2 separate regions of the Homo sapiens genome follow, and region 2 is linked to region 1. The links are contacts of gene promoters, found by promoter capture Hi-C in blood cells and fetal thymus (Javierre and others, 2016). All regions are on one chromosome and are shown on one strand. The core of a region is centred on a gene start or on the middle of the fragment in contact, and the rest is flanking DNA. Distances in the headings are between cores, read along the strand shown. Region 1 holds the start of NXPE3 (neurexophilin and PC-esterase domain family member 3). Region 2 has its middle 3.2 kb from the start of PCNP.

Region 1 (4,207 bases), core at 1,197-3,696:
TAGCTGGGATTACAGGCGCCTGCCACTATGCCCGGCTAATGTTTTTGTATTTTTAGTAGAGACGGGGTTTCACCATGTTGGCCAGGCTGGTCTCAAACTCCTGACCTCAGGAGATCCACCTGCCTCAGCCTCCCAAAGTGTTGGGATTACAGGCATGAGCACCGCGCCTGGCCAATTATGACTTTTAAAAGGAAAATATGTCCATTAATTTGAGAGCATGGACCAACGCAGTAGTGACATCAACTACTTCACTCACTTTCAGTCTCTTACCCTTGGCAGCCTCCTCCAATTGTTCATGGTGTTTTGGAACAGAGTGGTTGGTACCTAATGTGACAGTGGTCACTTAATTTTCAGTAGGTAGATGGCCTTGGGGCCCAAATTTCAGTGACTTGTTCAAAGGGAGGAAGCAAAGGAACTGAATGAGGAACTGACTTGGGCTCAGGAGTATGCATGTAGGCCTCCGTGAAAACATCTGAATGAACACAGAGTCCACTGTGGTCAAGAAATATAAAAATACTTAATGTGCTTGTGCCTCAAGCTTCTGCCATCAGGGACAGGTTTATTTGCTTTTATTTGTCTACTCTTAAGATCTATGCTTTGTTTTGCTTAGAGAATCAAGTTTAGCATTAATAAACACTAGTGTGTAAACTACATTTTCAGATGGGGCAGAAATGACCAGTTCCTTTGGTTTCATATCATCATATAAACATTTTTTTATTTTTTGAGACAGGGCCTCACTCTGTCACCCAGGCTGGAGTGCAGTGGCTGCTCTTATTTGTGGTTATGACTGTAAAATATAGGTAAATATAGGTAAGATCACTCAAATGCCTCAGGGTTATGAGTGCTTGGGGGAGAATGGGGTCAATGAGGTCCAAAACCATGACCTAGAAGTCATCTTGTCCTAAGTATTTTACCACTTGTAAGACAGCCAAGCTGTACATGAGGCGGGGGATCCTACTGGGAGATAAAGCATAATCAGAGCAGAAGTCTAGTATATGAGGCTCTTCTTCGATAGCAGAAGGAAGCTACCCTTTTATGTCCTCAAAAGGTCCCAGAGTGCTGTATTTCCTCGAGGAAGAAGGAGTATCAGATCATTACTACAATGGTTGAACTAGTTTACAGTCCCACCAACAGTGTAAACGTGTTCCTACTTCTCCACATCCTCTCCACCACCTGTTGTTTCCTGACTTTTTAATGATCGCCATTCTAACTGGTGTGAGATGGTATCTCATTGTGGTTTTGATTTGCATTTCTCTGATGGCCAGTGCTGATGAGCATTTTTTCATGTGTTTGTTGGCTGCATAAATGAACACTTGGACACAGGAAGGGGAACATCACACACCTGGGCATGTTGTGGGGTAGGGGGAGGGGGGAGGGATAGCATTAGGAGATATACTTAATGTAAATGACGAGTTAATGGGTGCAGCATACCAACATGGCACATGTATACATATGTAACAAACCTGCACGTTGTGCACATGTACCCTAGAACTTAAAGTATATTAAAAAAAAAAAAAAGAAGATCATTACTACAGAAGAGATCTTCCACCCTGTGGCAGAACTTCCTTTTATCCCATTCACGGATCTGGTTGCCCACGAAGCAGGCCTGCCATGAAAACATCTGAATGAGCATGCAGAGTCCATTATGGTCAAGAAATGGAAAAATACTTAGTTGTCATGTACATTAATTATTTTTCTTAAACCTTGGGGTAATAGTCCGGGGGCAGGCCTGCTTTTGGGGCCTGTGTTAACCCCACTGTGCTCCAAGCACAGAGAAACACGGTGCAGCCCACAATTCCTTCTGGTTTCTTGAACAAGTGTCTTCTCAGGACTCCTCTCAGTTCCTGAATTTCACAAAACTGCTACCGACGTTTTACCAGTTAGAAAAATGTCCAAAATAGGATAACCCAGAATTGGGGATGGTGGAGGGTGAGGAAAGTATGCTTTGCCAAGAGACCGACATCATGTACAGTGAGAGTAAAAGGAACGGGCTGTTTTACTGGCGAGTAGAAGTTGTTGACTAATGTCAAAGCAAGGAAAAGATTCAAGGATCCGCTATATCCGTGCTTATACTTGGCAAATCGCATTTCTCTGGTTCAGGGCACAATAAATTCCATCACTCCACAGGAAAGACTGCCCTACTAGAGTCAACTGCGGTTGTGGGCACTTTCGCTGACAAGCGAAAAGCCTTGAGGTAGGTGGATGCTCCCAGGAAACTCAGACGTCCGAAGTTCACGAGGAGTTGGGTCGTGAGAGGGGCCAGACCTCGATCCGCGGGGCGACAGCTGCAGTGTCGCGTCGCGAGCAGGAGCTTGGCGGCGTAGAGCGCCAGGGTGCCAACTTCGCTTCCAGGCCTGTGGGTTCCGCCCGGCGCGTGCTGCTGTCAGTCAACGCCCTCGGCCCGCCCCCGCCGAAGCTCCACCAATCGTAGCCGGGGGTCGGAGGTGAGGAGACGTCGCCGGGTGAGGAAGCGGGGGGCTAGCGGCCTGGCGCTGCGGCGACCGACCGGGGCGTCAGGATCCCTGGCCCCCGGAGAGCGAAGGGCGGGCGGGTCCCGGAGGTGAGTGCTGGATGTGGTCTGTGTGCGGACGTCGGGAGGGGCCGCTGCGGGCGGAGCGACCCATTGCCCGGCTCTGCCAGCGCGCTCCTAGACTGCGAAGCCCCTCCCTCCGCGCGCATCTGCTCCCGAGTCCCCAGCCCCGTGCTGATAGGTGCAGCCCCTGGAGTCGTGGCTGTGGGCATAGGTGCCAGGGAGGGGAGGCCCGGGTCGAAGGCATAGGCAGAATTGGAGCCCTGGGTTGCCAAAGCGTCGCAGCTAAGAAGCCGGAGCCCAGGCTAGTACCGGCGGGGCGGGGCGGGGCGGGGCCGGGAGCGAGCATCTCCATCCTCAGTTTCCTCCACTTGCGGCAACGCCACAGCTCGGTACAGTTCGGACCTCCACGCCGCAGCGAAAGACTTCTGTCCTCCAGGCACCTTCACTAACCCGGTGCGGAGCACTTGGCGACGCCTCCCTGCCCATCTCATATCTCTCGGCTCATCGCTGCTCTGGGCACCAGCTGCCTCTTGGCTGGCGCTGCTGTCACACGGTGGACTGTTCTGGCCTTACTGAGCTGCCGTTTGGGGACATCAGATTCAGGTCGTATGGGGAGAAACGAGTGTAACTTTACAAGGTGTGATATGGAGACCCTGGCCTGTTGCCCATTTCTGCCTGATCAAAGGCCACTAGGGTGGTAATAAGAGGGGTTCCGAGGCAGGATTTATGCAGCATTTGTGCAAAATTGTAAATTTTCTTTGCTTTTCATTATTTACATTAAAGGGGGATTGTTGCCACATTTCCTAAAGATAAAGAATCACACTGCTTTGGTGGGCCTCCCCGCTCCTCACTGTGGTTAATTATCATTTGGAACATCAGGATATATTTGAAACTGGCAGGACTCCCAGACCCTGATAATTGTTTGGAGGCAGCAGTATACTATTTCTCCGTAGTGTTTGGGTTCTGCTTTTCTTTGAATTTGTTTAGTATTTTTTTTTCCATGTCTGTTATCCTCACAATCTCTTTGGGGCCAATAGAGTGCTGTTATTTGTTACTGAGAAAGGAAACGAAGGGATAAATCACTGAAGTGGGGTTAGCCTTCCCCATTGCCTGGGAATTGGGTTGTCCTGACCTGACAATTTAAGTTACAATTCAAACATCATTTTGGAAAGGCCATCCTTTTACCAACTGAAACGAATAACAGTCCCTGGCCACTCTATACTAGTGGTTCTCCCACTTGGCTGTATGTTGTAATCATCTAGGGACCTTTTTAAAAAAAGCTACTTCTTGGGCCTATTCCTACAGATTCTGATTTAATTGTTTGAGTGGGGCCCAGTTGTTTGTATTTTAAAAAGCTTCCACGATGATTATTAATGTTCATGCAGGGTTGAGGACCACAACCTATCAATGTGTTCAATATTTAAAAAATAGCACTTAGTACAGTGTGACTTATATAACTGATTTTATTACTTCTCCACTTGCTATGTAACCTCCATGAATACATGGGGCCCTGCTTTGGAAGAAGGGCAAGGGAAGGTCCAGATGAGTCAGCACTTTGTGCATGTGAGGCTGCGGGACACGAAGGAGAAATGGAATCTGTGGAAACAAGTCCTGCAGACTACTGCCCCTGCTTCATCTTTTTTCAAGGATTGACCCTATTTGGTTAACCCATCA
Region 2 (3,786 bases), core at 1,052-3,551, 210 kb before region 1:
GTTTGAGACCAGCCTGGCCAACATGGTGAAACCCCAGCTCTACTAAAAATACAAAAATTAAAATTAGCCAGGTGTTGTGGCACAGGCCTGTAATCCCAGCTACTCAGGAGACTGAGACAGAAGAACTGCTTGAAGCCAGGAGGCGGGGGTTGCAGTGAGCCGAGACTGTGCCACTATACTCCAGCCTGAGTGACAGAGCAAGACTCCGTCTCAAAAAAAACAAAAACGAAAAGAAGGGACGGGACTAGGTGTGGTGGCTCATACCTGTACTCCCAGTACTTTGGGAGGCCAAGGCAGGTGGATCCCTTGAGTCCAGGAGTTTGAGACCAGCCTGGGCAACATTGTGAAACCCTGTCTCTACAAAACTTAGCCAGGGATGGTGGTGTTCACCTTTAGTCCCAGCTACTTGGCGGGCTAAGCCAGGAGGATCGTTTGAGCGTGTGATGTGGAGGTTGCAGTGAGCCAAGATCATGTCATTGCATTCCAGGTTGGGTAACAGAGCAAGACCCTGTCTCAAAAGATAAAAAAAAGAATGGACAGAGATATAGGAGACAGAGTATGAACAATCTTTTCAAAGTTTCTATATGAAGGAAAATAGGAATGAGGAGCTACAGGAAGATATGAGATCAAGAGAAGAGTCTTTTACTAAGATAGGAGACATAAAAGCATGTATGTATGATGTTGGGAATGTTTCAATAGTAGAAAGAAAAATCGGATGGAACAATAGTGATGTGTGTAAACAAGGACAGGCTCCACTTCATAAGTAACAGAACACATAGTATATAGGTATAAATGCAGGTACCACACCTCAGATATGGTTGAGAATATATAGAAGTTCTGTTTGATTACTATTATTTTCTCACTGAAAATAAAAAGCAAAATCATCCCAAGTGGGAGGACGTAATGGACATTTTTGGAGAGCCAACAAAACATGAAATAGTATAGGAAAGTGAGTGAATTAGGGCAGTGGTTCTCAAAGTGTGGTTCCCCAACGAGCAGCATCAGCATTACTTGGGAACTAGTTAGAAATGCAAATTTTAGGGCTCCAGCCATTGAGTCAACTGAATCAGAAACTGGCAATGGGGCCCAGCAATCTGTTTTAACATGTCCTTCAGGTGATTCTGATGTACACTGAAATTGAGAATAGTCTGAGGACATGTAATAGAATTATAAGGCTACATTAAGAACCTACTTAATGGCTCATGCCTGTAATCCGAGAATTTTGGGAGGCTAAGGCAGGAGGATCACTTCAGCCCAGGAGTTCAAGGCTGCAGTGAGCTATGAGCCACTGTACTCTAACCTGGGCAACAGAACGAGATCCTGTCTCAAAACAAAAACAAAAACAAAACAAAAAAAAGAACCTACTTAAGGTTAGTGAAATCAAGATTAGCCACTTTTCTTCTCCACTCTAATTTTTTTTTTTTTTTTTTTGGTAGCTCTTGGCCTGAATTTCAAGTTCAGCTCCACTTCTTACTTATCTTTTCCGTGCCCAAATTCCCTCTTCCATAAAAATGGGAGTAACAGTAGCACTTAATTCACAGGGTTGTAATGATTTAATGTACTGAATTTCATGTAGAATACCTGCAACAATGCTTGGTGTATAGTAAGCTTGAATAAATGTTAGATATTATAGTTGTCGCCTCACAAATTACACATCTAAATTAAAATAATAATTGCTCATATTACCTTCCATTTCCAGCCTTTTAAACCACTTAAATAGCTCACTAGAGGTTATAATCCATAGCTACTATGAAGCAAGCTCTCACCATGGCCAGGCAGCATATTATAGATTTAACCTTTATTATCCCAATGCCCTCAGTAACCCTATATGTATTATTCCATTTGTATAGTTATAACATATTCCATAACATTGTTATCCAGTACAAACTCACAGAATTAGCAAAATGCAGAATTAGAATTTAAGTCGAGTTTTTGTGTGGTGCAAAACTAATGCTCTTTGCCTTGGACTACATTGCCTATTCATTGTCAGAAAACGGTACCCCAAAATTTGGTGCTTTGACATGCTGAACTAGAGAAGCAGCCGCAAGGTTTCTCTGATCTCCCCACCCCACCTCCTGCCTCTCAATCCTCTGCCTCCCCCAAAACACGGGATAAGACTGTTCTTTGAAGTTTCTTATCTACCTAGAAACCACACACATCAAAGAACACAATTGCTTTCTATCTGCTTCCTCCCTGAAATTTCATTAACCAGAAGAAATTAAAACATATCACAAAGCCAGATACAGTGGTGCACACATGTAGTCCCAGCTACCTGTGAGTCTCAGATGGGAGGATTCTTGAGGCCAGGAGTTTGAGGCTGTAGTGTGCTATCATCATGCCTGTGAATAGCCACCACACTCCAGCCTGGGCAACACAGTGCGACCTGGTCTCATAAAAAAACAAAACTCACATCATAGAGGAAGAGACTGAAAATTAACCACCACACTTAGAGCCCAAACTTTGCCTCAAACTACTGTTTTTTGTTTTTGAGACAGGGTCTCACTCTGTCACCCAGGTTGGAGTGCAGTGGCGAGATCTTGGCTCACTGCAACCTTGCCTCCGGGGCTCAAGTGATCCTTCTATCTCAGCCTCCCTAGTAGCTGGGATTATGGGAGTGAGTCACCACGACTGGCCTTCGAATTATTATTGGTTCTCTAGTTTCACTTGGTTTACAAAGAGAATAATTTACAAGTGAATTTCTGCATTAATCTCTCCTAAAATCATTTACTACTCCTCTAAAATTGCCTGTAGCCCCCCCACCTCTCTCTCCCCTATGAAAAGTATTAAACTTCAACCATCTGACCCTTTTTTTAGTTTTCTTATTTTGTTGTATCATTCCCATGCTTATGCACATTAATTTTCTCTTGTTAACCTGTCTTTTATTAACAAGCATGTTGTCATGACTCTTTTGATGGGGAGGAAAGTGATCACCCCCTTTCCACCCCTTCATACTACACTACCTTTCCATTTCCTAACCCGTTTGTAGGAGGTTACTGAAGCTTGCATTAATTTCTTCAATAGATATTTATCCAGACTAGTATAATCCAGGTGCTGGGGAAACAGTGGTGAACAAGACAGGCACACCTCATGAAACTCACAGAACTGAAAGGTGAATGGATTACTATCTTCATCCTTTTTTTGTTTCGTTTTTTTCCTTTCATACCTAGTCCTGCACATGCATCCTTAACTTCTGCAGTGTGGTATATGGGAACTGGATCCGCTCCTAAATAGGTATGTGACTTCTCTGAGCTTTATCTTCTTCACTTAAAAATTACAAGCATCGGCCGGGCACGGTGGCTCACGCCTGTAATCCCAGCACTTAGGGAGGCTAAGGTGGGCGGATCACAAAGTCAGGAGTTCGAGACCAGCCTGGCCAACATAGTGAAACCCCGTCTCTACTAAAAATACAAACATTAGCCGGGTGTGGTGGCACGCGCCTGTTGTCCCAGCTACTCGAGAGGCTGAGGCAGGAGAATCGCTTGAACCCAGGAGGCGGAGGTTGCAGTGAGCCAAGACCATGCCATTGCACTCCAGCCTGGGTGACAGAATGAGAGACTCCATTCCACCCCCCATAAAAAATTACAAGCATCTGTAAATACATAATCTCAAATAAAAATCTTCGTGTATATCTCCATTTTTAAAATGATAGAAACGAGAGTCTCAATGATTACCTTGAAAAGATCACAAGGAAAATGAAACAAACATGAATTAAGTACCTGTAAGATAGTTTGCTGGTTACTTTTACATATATGATAAATGATGGATCAGGGACTTCAACCTAGATCA

The links. The method cuts DNA at HindIII sites, captures the fragments that hold promoters and counts their contacts. A CHiCAGO score of 5 or more calls a contact.
Region 2: a contact is called between a fragment that was not itself captured here and the fragment with the promoter of NXPE3 in region 1, in 7 of 17 cell types (total CD8 T cells, naive CD8 T cells, non-activated CD4 T cells and 4 more). The highest score is 7.1, in total CD8 T cells.

The regions. Positions count from the first base shown.
Region 1 is chr3:101,776,765-101,780,971 of GRCh38, forward strand. NXPE3 (neurexophilin and PC-esterase domain family member 3) reads left to right here and starts at 2,447. Exons shown (of 8, transcript NM_145037.4): 1 at 2,447-2,560. RefSeq lists enhancers at 2,261-2,555, 3,120-3,169 and a silencer at 2,360-2,709. The HindIII fragment of the contact is 3,350 bases long and covers 537-3,886 here.
Region 2 is chr3:101,569,107-101,572,892 of GRCh38, forward strand. No RefSeq gene overlaps it. Among named protein-coding and RNA genes, the nearest start is that of PCNP, 3.2 kb to the right of the region's middle. The HindIII fragment of the contact is 1,391 bases long and covers 1,607-2,997 here.